Regions from separate parts of the Homo sapiens genome. Here region 1 is linked to region 2. The links are contacts of gene promoters, found by promoter capture Hi-C in human tissues and cell types (Jung and others, 2019). All regions are on one chromosome and are shown on one strand. The core of a region is centred on a gene start or on the middle of the fragment in contact, and the rest is flanking DNA. Distances in the headings are between cores, read along the strand shown. Region 1 overlaps ADGRE2 (adhesion G protein-coupled receptor E2). Region 2 holds the start of CLEC17A (C-type lectin domain containing 17A).

What was found. The method cuts DNA at HindIII sites, captures the fragments that hold promoters and counts their contacts. A contact is called where the count stands out against the background at its distance.
Region 1: a fragment that was not itself captured here is called in contact with the fragment with the promoter of CLEC17A in region 2 in 1 of the 25 tissues and cell types used here (spleen).

What each region holds. Positions count from the first base shown.
Region 1 is chr19:14,751,694-14,758,508 of GRCh38, forward strand. ADGRE2 (adhesion G protein-coupled receptor E2) reads right to left here. Exons shown (of 21, transcript NM_013447.4): 12 at 4,545-4,652; 13 at 3,961-4,184; 14 at 3,261-3,434; 15 at 636-833. Among named protein-coding and RNA genes, the nearest start is that of ADGRE2, 23 kb to the right of the region's middle. The HindIII fragment of the contact is 3,126 bases long and covers 3,676-6,801 here.
Region 2 is chr19:14,578,967-14,586,400 of GRCh38, forward strand. CLEC17A (C-type lectin domain containing 17A) reads left to right here and starts at 4,118. Exons shown (of 14, transcript NM_001204118.2): 1 at 4,118-4,237; 2 at 4,391-4,468. The coding sequence starts at 4,195. It also overlaps the pseudogene RN7SL337P. RefSeq lists enhancers at 1,742-1,791, 4,233-4,402, 6,542-6,591 and a silencer at 3,748-3,891. The HindIII fragment of the contact is 21,633 bases long and covers 1-7,434 here.

The DNA of each region.
Region 1 (6,815 bases), core at 3,989-6,488, 170 kb after region 2:
CCAGAGCGGCGATCAGATTTGAGTGTGGCCCATGGCTTCTCCTGTACCATGTTGTTGGGGAGAATTCTGAGATATTTGATGGCATTATAGAGAATATTTGCTGTGTAGTTGAGTCAGGCAATGGGAAATTGGTGGTGTTCTCTTCTAATATTCCCCAGGACTCAAGGGCCTATATATATATACGTGTATATATACGTATACACACACACACACACACACATATATATATATATATATATTTTTTTTTTTTTTTTTTTGAGACGGAATTTCACTCTTGTTGCCCAGGCTGGCATGCAATGGTGCGATCTCGGCTTACCACAACCTCCACCTCCTGGGTTCAAGAGATTCTCTTGCCTCAGCCTCCTGAGTAACTGGGATTACAGGTATGCGCCACCATGCCTGGCTAATTTTGTATTTTTAGTAGAGACGGGGTTTCTCCATGTTGGTCAGGCTGGTCTCAAACTCCCGACCTGAGGTGATCCGCCCACCTCAGTCTCCCAAAGTGCTGGGATTACAGGCATGAGCCACCACGCCCAGCCGGGCTATTATATTAAGGAATCAAATGCCGCATCATTCCATGAGCCAGCGTGTCCTGCGTCAAGGAAGGGAGCCCTCTGGAACACCGCTGTCAATACCTTGTGTCCGGTTTGATCAATTGCCACGAGGAAGAGGAGGTGGGCCAGGAAGAGGCAGAGCGAGAGCTGCAGATGCAGTGAGGTGCTGGTGTTCTGGATGGCTTTACACAGGAGAAAAGTGAGGGCCGCCAGGAGGAGGCACAGCAGAGAGACGCTCAGCCCCATGTAGGTGATGACAGTCAGCACGGGATCCTCCTCCTGGGACCCGGAAAAGAAGAGTTCACAGTGATGCTTTCCTGCTCTGGGGTAATGACCCCACCACCATTTAAAATTTTTACTTTGGCATAGCACATTCAAGAATGAGGGAGCCAGGTAAATTTGTGAAGATGTCACCAATTTAATTTAATTTGCGAAGGTGTCACCCGAGCCTCATGGGTGGCTAGGAATACAGGCGTAGTCATGTAGGTGACAACGGGTGTGCATTATAGTCATGTATGGCACCATGCCCTGCTAATTTTTTTTTTTGACAGTCTTGCTCTGTCGCCCAGGCTGGAGTGCAGTGGTGCGATCTCTGCTCACTGCAGCCTCTGTCTCCTCGGTTCAAGCGATTCTCGTGTCTCAGCCTCCCAAGTAGTTGGGATTACAGGCACGTGCCTCCATGCCAGGCTAATTTTTATACTTTTAGTAGAGACAGGGTCACACCATGTTGGCCAGGCTGGTCTTGAACTCCTGACCTCATGATCCACCCGCCTCGGCCTCCCAAAGTGCTGGGATTACAGTCGTGAGCCACCACACCCGTCCTAATTTTTTTTTTATTTTTGTAGAGACAGGGTCTTTCTGTGTTGCACAGGCTGGTCTCGAATTCCTGGGCTCAAGTGATCCTCCCGTTTCAGCCTCCCAAAGCACAGAGATTCCAGGTGTGGGCCCGTTAGGTTTTGAAGGGAAAGTGAGAGTTAAAGAAAGACAGAGAGTTGGCAGCTCTACAGCAATGCAGGTTTATGTCCAGCAGGAGACTTGTGGAGGGGGGAGCTAGCTTCGTGCCAGAACCCACTGCCGCTTACAGGCTGGGGTAATTACAGGTCTGGGCGGGAGGGGCTGGGCGGTATGGCTTGCTGCCTGGGAGGATATTGATAAGATGTTCCTGTCATGGAAAACAAAAGGGTGGTTTGGCCCTTTCTCCCGCAGGATATGATGATGATGTCCCTTGGATCTACTCTAAGTGATGAGATAAGAAAGTCAGGTGGGCGAGGTGTGGTGGTTCCTGCCTGTAATACCAGCACTTTGGGAGGCCGAGGCGGGTGGATTACTTGAGGTAAGGAGTTCGAGACCAGCCTGGCCAACTTGGTGAAACCCCATCTCTAGTAAAAATACAAAAATTAGCCGGGCATGGTGGTGCATGCCTGTAGTCCCAGCTACTCAGGAGGCTGAGGCAGGAGGATCCCTTGAACCCAGAAGGTCAAGGCTGCAGTGAGCTATGACTGTGCCACTGCACTCCAGCCTGGGTGACAGAGACCCTGTCTAAAAAAAAAAAAAAGGCAGAGTTTACCCTGGGTGGGCCAGACCTAATCAGATGAGTCTTTATAAGCTCTGGGCTCTTCCTGGAGAATCAGATTCAAAACTTGTGACGGTTAATACTGGGTGTCAACTTGATTGGATTGAAGGATACAAAGTATTGATCCTGGGTGTGTCTATCAGGGTGTTGCCAAAGGAAATTAACATTTGAGTCAGTGGACTGGGAAAGGCAGATCCACTCTTAATCTGGGTGGGCACTGTCTAATCAGCTGCCAGCGTGGCTAGAATATAAGCAGGCAGAAAAATGTGAAAAGAGAGACTGGCCTAGCCTCCCAGCCTACATCTTTCTCCTGTGCTGGATGCTTCCTGCCCTTGAACATCAGACTCCAAGTTCTTCAGTTCTGGGACTCGGACTGGCTCTCCTTGCTCCTCAGCCTGCAGACGGCCTATCGTGGGACCTTGTGATCATGTGAGTTAATACCTAATAAACTCCCCTTTATATATATCTATATCTATCTATATATATAGATCTCTCTCTATATATCTCTATATATGTATATATTTGAGTCAGTGGGTTGGGAAAGGCAGATCCACTCTTAATCTGGGTGGGCACCATCTAATCAGCTGCCAGCGTGGCTAGAATATAAGCAGGCAGAAATTATCTATCTATCTATCTATCTATCTATCTATCTATCTATCTATCTATCTATTCCATTAGTTCTGTCCCTCTAGAGAACCTCGACTAATACAAAGCTTAAGAGGGATTCTGCGTGAGGAAATTTTTTTCCTTGTCCTCCAGATAGGAATGCTAGAAGTTTGCCAGAGGGTCATGTGAGAAGGGATATGAGTGGCCTCTAGGAACTGAATGTGATGCCTTCCTGACAGCTAAGAAAGTGAGACTTCAGTCCTACAATCACAAGAAACTGAATTCTGCCAGCAACCAGGGAGCTTGGAGAAGGACCTCAAGTCTCAGATGAAATGGCAGCCCTGGGGGTGGGGTGACATGATGATTTCAGTCTTGTAAGACCCTGAGCAGAAAAGCCATCTTGCTATGCCAGCTTGCTGACCCAGAGCTGTGAGATAATGCATATATTTTTTTAAAAGGCTGCTACGTCTCTGGGGATTTGTTACACGGCAATAAATGCAGAGTGCATCCCCTCCTAAGGGTCTCACCTGCACATCGTAGTGGGCCATGAGGACGGCAAAGCTGCTCAGGTGGGTGCAACGGCAGATGGTGCTGGTGTCTCTGGTGCCTATTGTGCTGCAGCCTGTGGTGGCCCAGTGACCACATCCATTCTGGCCATGCTCCCAGAAGACACAGAGCACCTTCTGTCTCGGGATCACTGACTGCAGGAACAGAACACAGGTGTGGGCTGGGCATGGTGGCTCACGCCTGTAATCCCAGCACTTTGGGAGGCTGAAGCAGGTGGATCACTTGAGGTCAGGAGTTTGAGACCAGCCTGGCCAACATGGTGAAACCCCATCTCTACTAAAAAAAAAAAAAAAAAAAAAAAATACAAAAATTAGCTGGGCGTGGTAGCACACACCTGTAGTCCCAGCTATTAGGGAGGCTGAGGCAGGAGAATCGCTCGAACCTGGGAGGCGGAGACTGCAGTGAGCTGAGATCGTGCCACTGCACTCCAGCCTGGCTGACACAGCGAGACTCTGTCTCAATAAAAAAAAGAACACAGGTGTGAGCTGGTGGGTCGGATGCTCAGAAATGCTTACCCAAAGCCGGCTTGGGAAGGACTGACTTTCCTGGGGAGATAATGTACCCATAACAGAGACCCCTGAGCCCCAGGGCTGAGCTGAGCAGCAAGGCTATGCCCGGACTCAGACTATTCACCCACCAACCAACTCCACCAGCACTCACACGGTGGGAGAAGGTGAAGGTAACTGGGGAGCTGAGGTTTTGGGTGTCGTTGTTGCTCAGAAAGGCAGAGATCACATCTGAGAGCAGGATGGGGGAGCCGTCCTGCAGCAAGCCCTGGTGTGTCTCATGCAGAAGCATCTGCTTCTCAGGTTCCAGGACCAGAGGGGCCTCAGCCAGCAACTTGCCCATCCCTGGAATGGAGACAAGGCCCACCACAGAAGGGCCTGCAGGGCGAGGCCAAGGTTGAATCTTGGAGTAGGTTGAATCTCTGGGTCCACACCAGAGTTCCTCTGCCCTGCACAGAACTTTCTACTCAGATGGGCTACCTTCCTTTGGCTTCACCCCTCCCACACTTTCCTTCAATCTTTAGTTCTATGTGTATCACATCCTGCAGGACAAGGCCACGGTTAATATCTCAGGGTCCCCAACAAGGTCCGTTCCTCCTCAGCTGGACTCTCCTCTTACAGCCCCACTCCAAACATCCCACACTTCCCTTTAATCTTTAAATTTCTTATTTTTCACATTCTTGGGCATCTTTTCCCACCATGAAGCTTCACTGACCACCTCCCCATCTCAGCCATTACCTGGGTCACCAGATTTCTGTGCCTGATTCCAGTCGAGCTGCATCACTGCCTGATTCTGTCTCAAGGTGACACTCCTGTCTACTTGCTTCTGCACCTCCAGGGACAATTCTATGAGTTGTGGGAATTACATAAGGGGGGTTAGGTTAGGAATCGTGCCTGCAGTGGTTGATATACTATGACTTAATATATATACTATATACATATATAGTCTGAAGTTACAAAATATCGGAAGAGAATAGTGTGAGCAACTGTATATCTACAAAGTAGGTAACCTAGATGAAATGGACACATTCCTAGTGACACACAAACCACTGAAATCAACTCAAGAAGAAATAGAAGATCTGAACAGACCTATAACAGATTAAATCAGTAATCAAAACCTCTCAAAACTAACAGCCCAGACCAGATGACTTCACTGGTGAGTTCTACCAATAGCTTAAGAAAGAATGAACATGAATCTTTTACCTTTTTAAAAATATGGAAGAGGAGGAAACACTATTTAAGTAATTTTATGAGTCTAATATTGCTCTGATAACAAAACCAGATGAAGACATCACAAGAAAATAAAATTATAGACCAATATTTCTTATGGACATAGATGCAAAAATTTTCAGCAAAAATGTTAGGAATACATTTTACGAAGGAGACTCAAGACTTATAGGAAAGTTTTTTGAGTATTTTTTTTTTTTTGAGACAAATTCTCACCTGTTGGTCAGGCTAGAGTGCAGTGGCATGATCATAGCTCACTGCAGTCTCCTGGGCTCAACCAATCCTTCCACCTCAGCCTCCCAAGTAGCTGGCACTACAGGTGCTCACTACCACAGCCAGCTAATTTTTAAATTTTTTGTGGAGATCATGTTTCAGTATATTTCCAAGGCTGGGCTTGAACTCCTGGGCTCAAGCAATTCTCCCACCTTGGTGGCCTCTGACAATATTGGGCGTGAGCCACTGCTTCTGGCCTACAAAAGTGTTTGAAAGAAATAAAAGGCCCTCTCTAAATGGAAAGACAGCCTATGTTCATGGATTGGAAGACTTTCTATTGTTAAGATAACAATACTCCCCCAAAGTGGTCTAGAGACTCAATGCAATCCCTATCAATATTTTAGCCTATTATTACTTTGCAGAATAAGAAAAGTTCATCTTAAAATTCATATGGTGTTGTAAGGAATCCAAATACCCAAAAACAATCTTGAAGAAGAACAAGAAGGTTGGAGAATTCACACTACCTGATTCCAAAACTTACTACAAACTGACAGTAATACTGGCATAAGGACACAACAGAATAGAATTGAGAGTCCAGGAATAAACCCATCCATCTTATGGTCAGTTGATTCTCAACAAGGGGTGCCAAGACTATACAATGGGGGAAAGAATAATCTCTTCAACAAATAGTGCTGGGATTACTGGATAGTAACATGAAAATAAGGAAGTTTTAACCCTACCCTCACACAACAAACAAAAATTAACTCAAAATAAGCCAGTGACCTAAGCTTAGAAGCTAAAACTAGAACACTTAGGAGGAAACAGGGGTAAATCTTCCTGGTCTTGGATGCGGTAATGAATTCTTTTTTTATTTTTATTTTTGGGACAGAGTCTTGCTCTGTCATCCAGGCTGGAGTGTAGTGGCACAATCTCAGCTCACTGCAACCTCCGTGTCCCAGGTTCAAGCAATTCTCCTGCCTCAGCCTCCTGAGTAGCTAGGATTACAGTCATGTGCCAACACATCTGGTTAATTATTTTTATTTTTATTTTTAGTAAGGACAGGGTTTCGCCTTGTTGGCCAGGCTGGTCTCAAACTCCTGACCTCAGGTGATCCGCCCACATTGGCCTTCCAAAGTGCTGGGATTACAGGCGTGAGCCACCACCCCCTGTCAATGAATTCTTAAATATGACACCAATTGCACATGCAACAAAAGAAAAATTAGATAAAATAAATGTCTTCAAGATTTAAAACTTCTATTCATTAAAGTGAAAAGACAAGAAAATGAAAAGACAATCTACAGAACGGGAGAAAATATTTTGCAAATCATTCATCTCAGATGATCTACTATCAGAATGTTTAAAGAATGCTTACAACTGGACAACCAAAAGACAAACAGCACAATTAAAAATAGGCAAAGGATTTGAATAGACATTTCTCCAAAAATGACATGCAAATGGTGAGCAAACACATGAAAAGATGTTAAACATCATTAGTTATCAGGGAAGGGCAAATCAAAACCACAATGAGGTATCATCTCACTAGTGAAGTGGTGTAAATACCCAAGTTTC
Region 2 (7,434 bases), core at 2,868-5,367:
CTTCTTTTTCTGTTTCTACTTTATTTTTATTTTTATTTTTTTGAGATGGAGTTTCTTTCTGTCACCCAGGCTGGAGTGCAGTGGTGCGATCTTGGCTCACTGCAACCTTTGCCTTGCAGGTTCAAGCGATTGTCCTGCCTCAGCCTCCGTGGTAGCTGGGATTACAGGTGCACACCACCACGCCCAGCTCATTTTCGTATTTTTAGTAGGGACAGGGCTTCACCGTATTGGCCAGGCCGGCCTCAAACTCCTGACCTCAGGTGATCCCCTGGCTTCGGCCTCCCAAAGTGCTGGGATTACAGGCATGAGCCACTGTGCCTGGCCATCTACTTCTTTTTCTTTTCTTGTTTTTAGAGATGGGGTCTCACTATGTTGCCCAGGCTGGAGTGCAGTGGCTATTCACAGGCGTGACCATAATGCACTGCAGCCTCAAACTCCTGGGCTCCAGGACTCCTCCCATCTCAGCCTCCTGAGTAGCTGGGACTATAGGCTCACACCACTGCACCTGTGTTTTTCTTCTTTTTCTATTTGTGACTATCTAACATAACTTCTAATGTAGTTGAGTTATTTATTTTATTCACTCTCTTTCTCCCTGTTGCTGCTCCCATGGGTAAAATTTTTTGTTGTTGTTCACCAGTGTATTTCGGTTCTTATGTGTTAGAGCCTAACACAGAGTAGGTGGTCAGTACTTATCTGTTGAATCAATGAATGAACAAATGAATCCCTGTTTGACATATCAGGAGACTAATGCTCAGAGATGTTGTTCTGCACCCCCAAGGTGACACAGCAAGAATGGGCCTGAGCTGGAAGCAGCCTGGGCTCATAGCCTTGTTATTTCAGTGAATGGGGCTGGATTCCAACATCTGTTCCTGAATACCTACTGTGTGCCAGGTCCCGAGGGATGGTATTGGCCAGGTAGCTATCACCCCTATACCATGAGACCACCCAGCCTTTATTGTAAGAAGGTCCCCTTACCTCTAAGAGTGCTTTTTTTTTTTTTTTTTTTTTTTGAGACAGAGTTTTGCTCTGTTGCCCAGGCTTGAGCACAGTGGTATGATCACAGCTCACTGCATCCTCAATCTCCTGGGCTCAAGCGATCCTCCCACCTCAGCCTCCCAAGTAGCTGGATCTACAGGCATGCACCACCATGCCCAGCTAATTAAAAAAAATTTTTTTTTTGAGAGAAGTCTCGTTCTTGTCCCCCAGGCTTGAGTGTGATGGCTCGATCTCGGCTCACTGCAACCTCTGCCTCCTGGGTTCAAATGATTCTCCTGCCTCTGCCTCCCAAGTAGCTGGGATTAAGGCGCCTGCCACCACGCCCGGCTAATTTTTGTATTTTTTAGTAGAGACAGGGTTTCACCATGTTTGCCAGGCTGATCTCGAACTCCTGACCTCAGGTGATCCGCCCACCTCAGCCTCCCAAAGTGCTGGGATTACAGGCGTGAGCCACCGTGCCCAGCCTAAAAAATTTTGTTTTTCTGTATAGTTGGGGTCTCACTTTGTTGTCCAGGATGGTCTCAAGCTCCTGGCCTCAAGAGATCCTCCTGCCTTGGCCTGCCAAAGTGCTGGGATTATAGGCATGAGGCACCATGCTCAGCCTAAAAAGTGCTCTTGATGGGCAGATATACCGTCAGTCTTTTTGACCTATTGACCTGTCCCTCCCCCTGTTACTATTCCCCTTCTCCTATCCTCCTATGTCTGTTTGCAGCTGCTCCCCACCCCCATCCATCTGGAGCCTGATTAGCTTGTGTGTGCTTAGCAGATGTTGGCTGAACAGACGGGCTCTTTCTTCCTTCTCAGACAGGTCTCCATTTTCCCATCTCTAGAATGGGTACAGTCACATTTGCCCTCCTACAGGTTGGAATGGGTACAGTCACGTTTGCCCTCCTACAGGCTGGGAAGGCTCTATGACATCAGGCCATGTAAGAGGGGAAAGCCCAGCCCCTAGAGTCAGCTTTGAATGGAAAGGGAGGTTAATCTGCTGCTGCCCTCCTACCTCAATTAAGACCGGGGCTACCCCATTGCCCACGTGCGGTGCGGGGGAAGGTTTTTCCATTTGTTAGAGGCTCTCACTTGCTTATACTGAGCCTGTCAGGTAAGAAATACATTCTATTTTGTTTGAGACACTCTTGTTCTGAGTCTCAGTTATGGAAACCCAACCTAATGTTCCCCATGGGCCTGATGAATGTTCCTTGTTGTTGAAGCCAATCTGAGTTGCATTTCCTCTTACTTTTAGTAAAAACCTCTACAAAGGGAAATTGGGGTCTTGCCCCTTGGGGTACATATTAGTTTCCTATAGTGACTCTAACAAATTACTCATAAATTGAGTGACTCGGAACCACAGAAATAATAATTATTATTATTGTTACTATTTTGAGATAGAGTCCTGCTCTTTTGCCCAGGCTGGAATGCAGTGGCGAGATCTTGGCTCACTGCAGCCTCCGCCTCCCGGGTTCAAGCGATTCTTCTGCCGCAGCCACCCGAGTAGCTGGCATTACAGGTGCCCGCTATCATGTCCAGCTATTCTTTTTTTTTTTGTAACTTTAGTAGAGATGGGATTTCATCATGTTGGCCAGGCTGGTCTCGAATGCCTGACCTCAAGTGATCCACCTGTCTGAGCCTCCCGAAGTGTTGGGATTACAGGCGTGAGCCACCGCGCCTGGCCAGAAATGGATTATATGGATTATTTTATTTTATTTTTTTGAGATGGAGTTTCACTCTTGTTGCCCAGGCAGGAGTGCAATGATGTGATCTCGGCTCACTGCAACCTCTACCTCCCGAGTTCAAACGATTCTCCTGCCTCAGCCTCCTGAGTAGCTGGGATTACAGGTGCGCGCCACCATATCTGGCTAATTTTGTATTTTTAGTAGAGATGGGATTTCACCATGTTGGCCAAGCTGGTCTTAAACTCCTGACCTCACGTGATCCACCCACCTCGGCCTCCCAAAGTGTTGGGATTACAGGTGTGAGCCACTGCACCCGGCCAGATTATTTTATAGTTCTGGAGTCAGGAGACCAACATCAGTCTCACTGCTGAAACCCAGGTGTTCATGGGCTGGGCCATGCTTCTTTAAGAGGCTGCAGCGTGAGAATCCATTTTCTTGCTGTTTCCAGCCTCTGCAGTTGCATTCTTTAGCATATGGCTCCTTCTTGCATCTTCAAAGCCAGCATAACTTTAGTGACCACATTGCCTTTTTTTTGTGTCAAATCTCCTTCTGTTTCCCTTCTACGAGGACCCTTGTAATGCCATTTTTTTTTTTTTTTGAGACGGAGTCTCGCTCTGTCACCCAGGCTGGAGTGCAGTGGTGCGATCTCGGCTCACTGCAAGCTCCACCTCCTGGGTTCACGCCATTCTCCTCCCTCAGCCTCCCGAGTAGCTGGGACCACAGGCACCCGCCACCACACCCAGCTAATTTTTTGTATTTTTAGTGGAGACGGAGTTTCACTGTGTAAGCCAGGATGGTCTCGATCTCCTGACCTCGTGATCTGCCTGTCTCGGCCTCCCAAAGTGCTGGGATTACAGGCGTGAGCCACGATGCCTGGCCTGTAAAGCCATTTAAGGCCCACCTAGGTAATCCAGGATAAACCATCCATCTCAAGACCCTTAATTAATTAATTAATATTTAATGTTTTTTAAAAAATTAATTTATTTATTTATTGAGACAGAGTCTCACTCTGTCACTCAGGCTGGAGTGCAGTGGCGTGATCTCGGCTAACTGCAACCTCCATCTCCCAGGTTCAAGCGATTCTCCTGCCTCAGCCTCCTGAGTAGCTGGGATTACAGGCGCCTGCCACTGCGCCTGGCTAATTTTTGTATTTTTAGTAGAGACTGGGTTTCACCATGTTGGCCAACCTGGTCTCGAACTCCTGGCCTTAAGTGATCCATCCACCTCAGCCTCTAAAAGTGCTGGGATTCCAGGCGAGAGCCACCACACCAGGCCAGTTGTCATTATTCCTTCTGTGCGTGAATCCAAACTGGGGAGAAAGGCTCTGTGTGTATGTGTGTGTGTGTGTGTGTGTGTGTTTGTGTGAGCACGTGTGAGGTCTGAGGGCTTCCTGTCAAAATGAATTTGCATGTATTTGACTTTGAAAGGAAAAGGGAACTGAGAGAGCCCCCAGACGCCTGAGTCGGAGAGACAGGGGGCAGAGGTTGCCAAGCCCTGGCTGCCACTTGTCAGGTTCCCTGTGCTAGACATGCATAATCTGTATTCCATCACTGGGTACCCGGACCCACCAGGTAAGGCCCCGGCCAGGCTGGGGCTGGGGCCTAGGTGTGGTCAGGACCCAGGGTACAGAATCCCCACCATGGGGCAGCTGAGGCAGAGACCAGGGCTTGAGGGATGGAGGGAGGAGGGAATGGCTGGGCTCTGACTTGCCTTTCCCCTGGAAGGGACCATGGAGGAGGAGGAGGAGGATGATGACTATGAGAACTCAACACCTCCCTACAAGGACCTTCCTCCCAAGCCAGGTAAGAGGACTTTTTGGAGTGTGACCTGGGGGAATACAGGGAATGGGGTCTCCAGTGGGCATTGGTTGGGCATTGTAGACACATAGTCAGTCTCCTCTGTATCCAGCCCATGCCGGGCACTGTGGAACCCACACCCTGCCCAGGACGACCTGTCAGTCTGATGGCGGAGGTGGGTTTGGGCACAGTCTTGGTGAGCAGGGTGAGAGAGGAGGGGTCAGGAGATTGGCAAAATCCTTGGGGGACTGAGGGCTCAAATAGAGGAAGGGACTTTGGGGTGGGGCTTGAGGGATGAGTAGACATATCTTAAGAAGAGAAGTCCAGGAGAGAACAGTTAGGTGCAAAGTCTCTGAGTTACAAAAGCTGGTGCTTGAGAAACTGGGAGTGGACTGTGGGCTCCCAGTCTCCTCACCTTTCTACCCAAAGCCCAGGTTTTATTTAGACTTGGATCTCAAACCCAAGGCATAGCACAGGGTTCAACAAGAGACTGATAAGTGGTTGTTAAAGTGGAGGTTTGGGCCAGCTGCAGTGGTGTGCGTCTGTAGTCTTGATACTTTGGGAGGTCAAGGTGGGAGGATCGCTTGAGGACAGGAATTTGAGACCAGCCAGGGCAACATAGCAAGACCCTATCTCTGCCAAAAAAAAAAAAAAATAGAGGTTTGGGCCGTGTGTGGTGGCACATGTCTGTAGTCCCAGCTACTTGGGAGGCTGAGTCAGTAGGATCACTTGAGCCCAGGAGTTCTGGGCGATTGTGAACTAGGCGATCGGGCGTCTGCACTAAGTTTGGCATCAATATGGTGATGTTTTGGGAGCAGGGGACCACCAGGTTGCCTAAGGTGTCTGAGGAGGGGTTTCCAGGTTGGAAACGGAGCAGTTCGACACCCCCAAGCTGATCAGTAGTGCGACTGCTCCTGTGAGTAGCCGCTGCACTCCAGCTTGGGCAGCATAGCGCGACTCCACTTCTAAAAAAATAGAGAAAATGAAACCGGAGGTTTTTGAGGTATTCCTGAGTTTACTGCCACCAGGGACCCTGAGGCCATGAGAGATCCCGGAGGCCCAAAACAGAAAATCCCTGAGATATGCTGATGGCCTGGTCCTGGTGACCTTAGACAGGAGCCATTCTGTGAGGGCTGAGGCTGTATATCCCCCATCTCTGAGTCCAAAGTGGGGCCACCTGGGAGGTCCAGAAATATGGTGGGACTTGCCTGAGGTAGGAGGTGACCTGTGCTGTGTTGTTTCACTGCCCCATTTCCAATTTATGGTCCTAATGTGACCCTCAAGCCCTGGGTCTACATATATGACCAACCAATCCCATTCCCTTCTTCAGGGCCACGTCTGCTCCAAAAGCACAGTCCTGTCCCCACATCCACATGCAGCCCAGCATCCACTCTCCAATCCAACTTCATCACCCTCTCTACTATAGCCCAGCCTCGACTCCTTCCCCATTCCCAAACCTGGCAAGGACTCTGTTCTTCATCCTAACCACATCATGACCTTACCCACATCCATCCCTGTCCCCAACCCATTTTCCATCCCATCCCACCCCATCCCAACACCAATTCTAATCCAAACCCCACCTCATCTTCATCCCCATCCTGAAACGCAACTGTTTTTGTTTTTTAAAATCCCCTCCATCCCCTTCCATCCCTTCTCCTTTCAATCAAACCCTCAAAGAGACACACAGAGAAGAGAACTGTGAATTGTCTGCTCATTAGTTTTTATGAGAGGAAACCAGAGAATTTAAAAAAAATATTTTTGAGACAGGGTCTTGCTTGTCACCCAGGCTGCCCTGAAGTGGTGCAATCATAGCTCACTGCAGCCTTGAGCTCCTGGGTCCAAGCAATCCTCCTACTACACCCTCCCGAGTAGCTGGGGTTACAGGCATGAGTCACTGTCTGTAAAGCCTCATGTGAAGCTCAGGGTCTACATATATGACTCATATGACTCTCAGGGCCTGTAAGTTCTGCAGAGATGACTGTGGTAGTCAGCCTTCAAGATGGGTTCCCTGTGACCCTTACGTTCTCATATTCGTGCCCTTGTGTAGTCTCTTCCCACAATGACTCAGAGCTGGTCCATGTGATAAATAGAATACTGTATAGTGGAGACCATCCTTTGTGACTTGTGAGGCTAGATCATAGGAGCATGGTGGCTTCTATCTTTGCCTCTGCCATGTTGTGAAGATGCCCAGTCATCCCTTTGGAGAGGCTCACATGGCAAGGAACTGAGGCCTCCCACCAACAGCCATGTGAGTGCATCATCTTGGAAGCAGATCCTCTAGCCCCAGTCAAGCCTGCAGATGACTTGCAGTCCCAGGCAACATCTTGACTACAATCACGCAAGAGATCTCAAGCTAGAACTACCCAGCTAAGCTGCTCTCAGATTCCTGAACCACAGAAACTGTGAGATAATAAATGCTTATGGTTGTTTTAAGTCACTGCGTTTTGGGGTAATTGGTTGTGCAGCCATAGATAACTGACCCAGTGCCCTGGTACTTCACCATGGAATGTGGGGGAATACTTAACACCTATCCCCTTAACATCTTGTTACAAATGTTACCACTTCCAGGAGGTACTTCCTGATGACCTCTCTACATTAGCTTTTATCCTATCCCATTGCTCTGTTTTATTAGGTTTAGAGCAGTAATACTTAGTCTATATAAAAACATATTTTAATGTTTCTTAATTTCTTTACTTTTTTTTTTTTTTTTTCTTGAGACGGAGTTTCACTCTTGCTGCCCAGGCCGGAGTGCAATGGTGCAATCTTGGCTGACAGCAACCTCTGCCTCCCGGGTTCAAGTGATTCTCCTGACTCAGCCTCCCTGGCAGCGGGATTACAGGCATGTGCCACTGTGCCCGGCTAATTTTGTATTTTTAGAAAAGATGGGGTTTCTCCATGTTGGTCAGGCTGGTCTCGAACTCCCGACCTCAGGTGATCTGCCTGCCTTGGCCTCCCAAAGTGCTGAGATTACA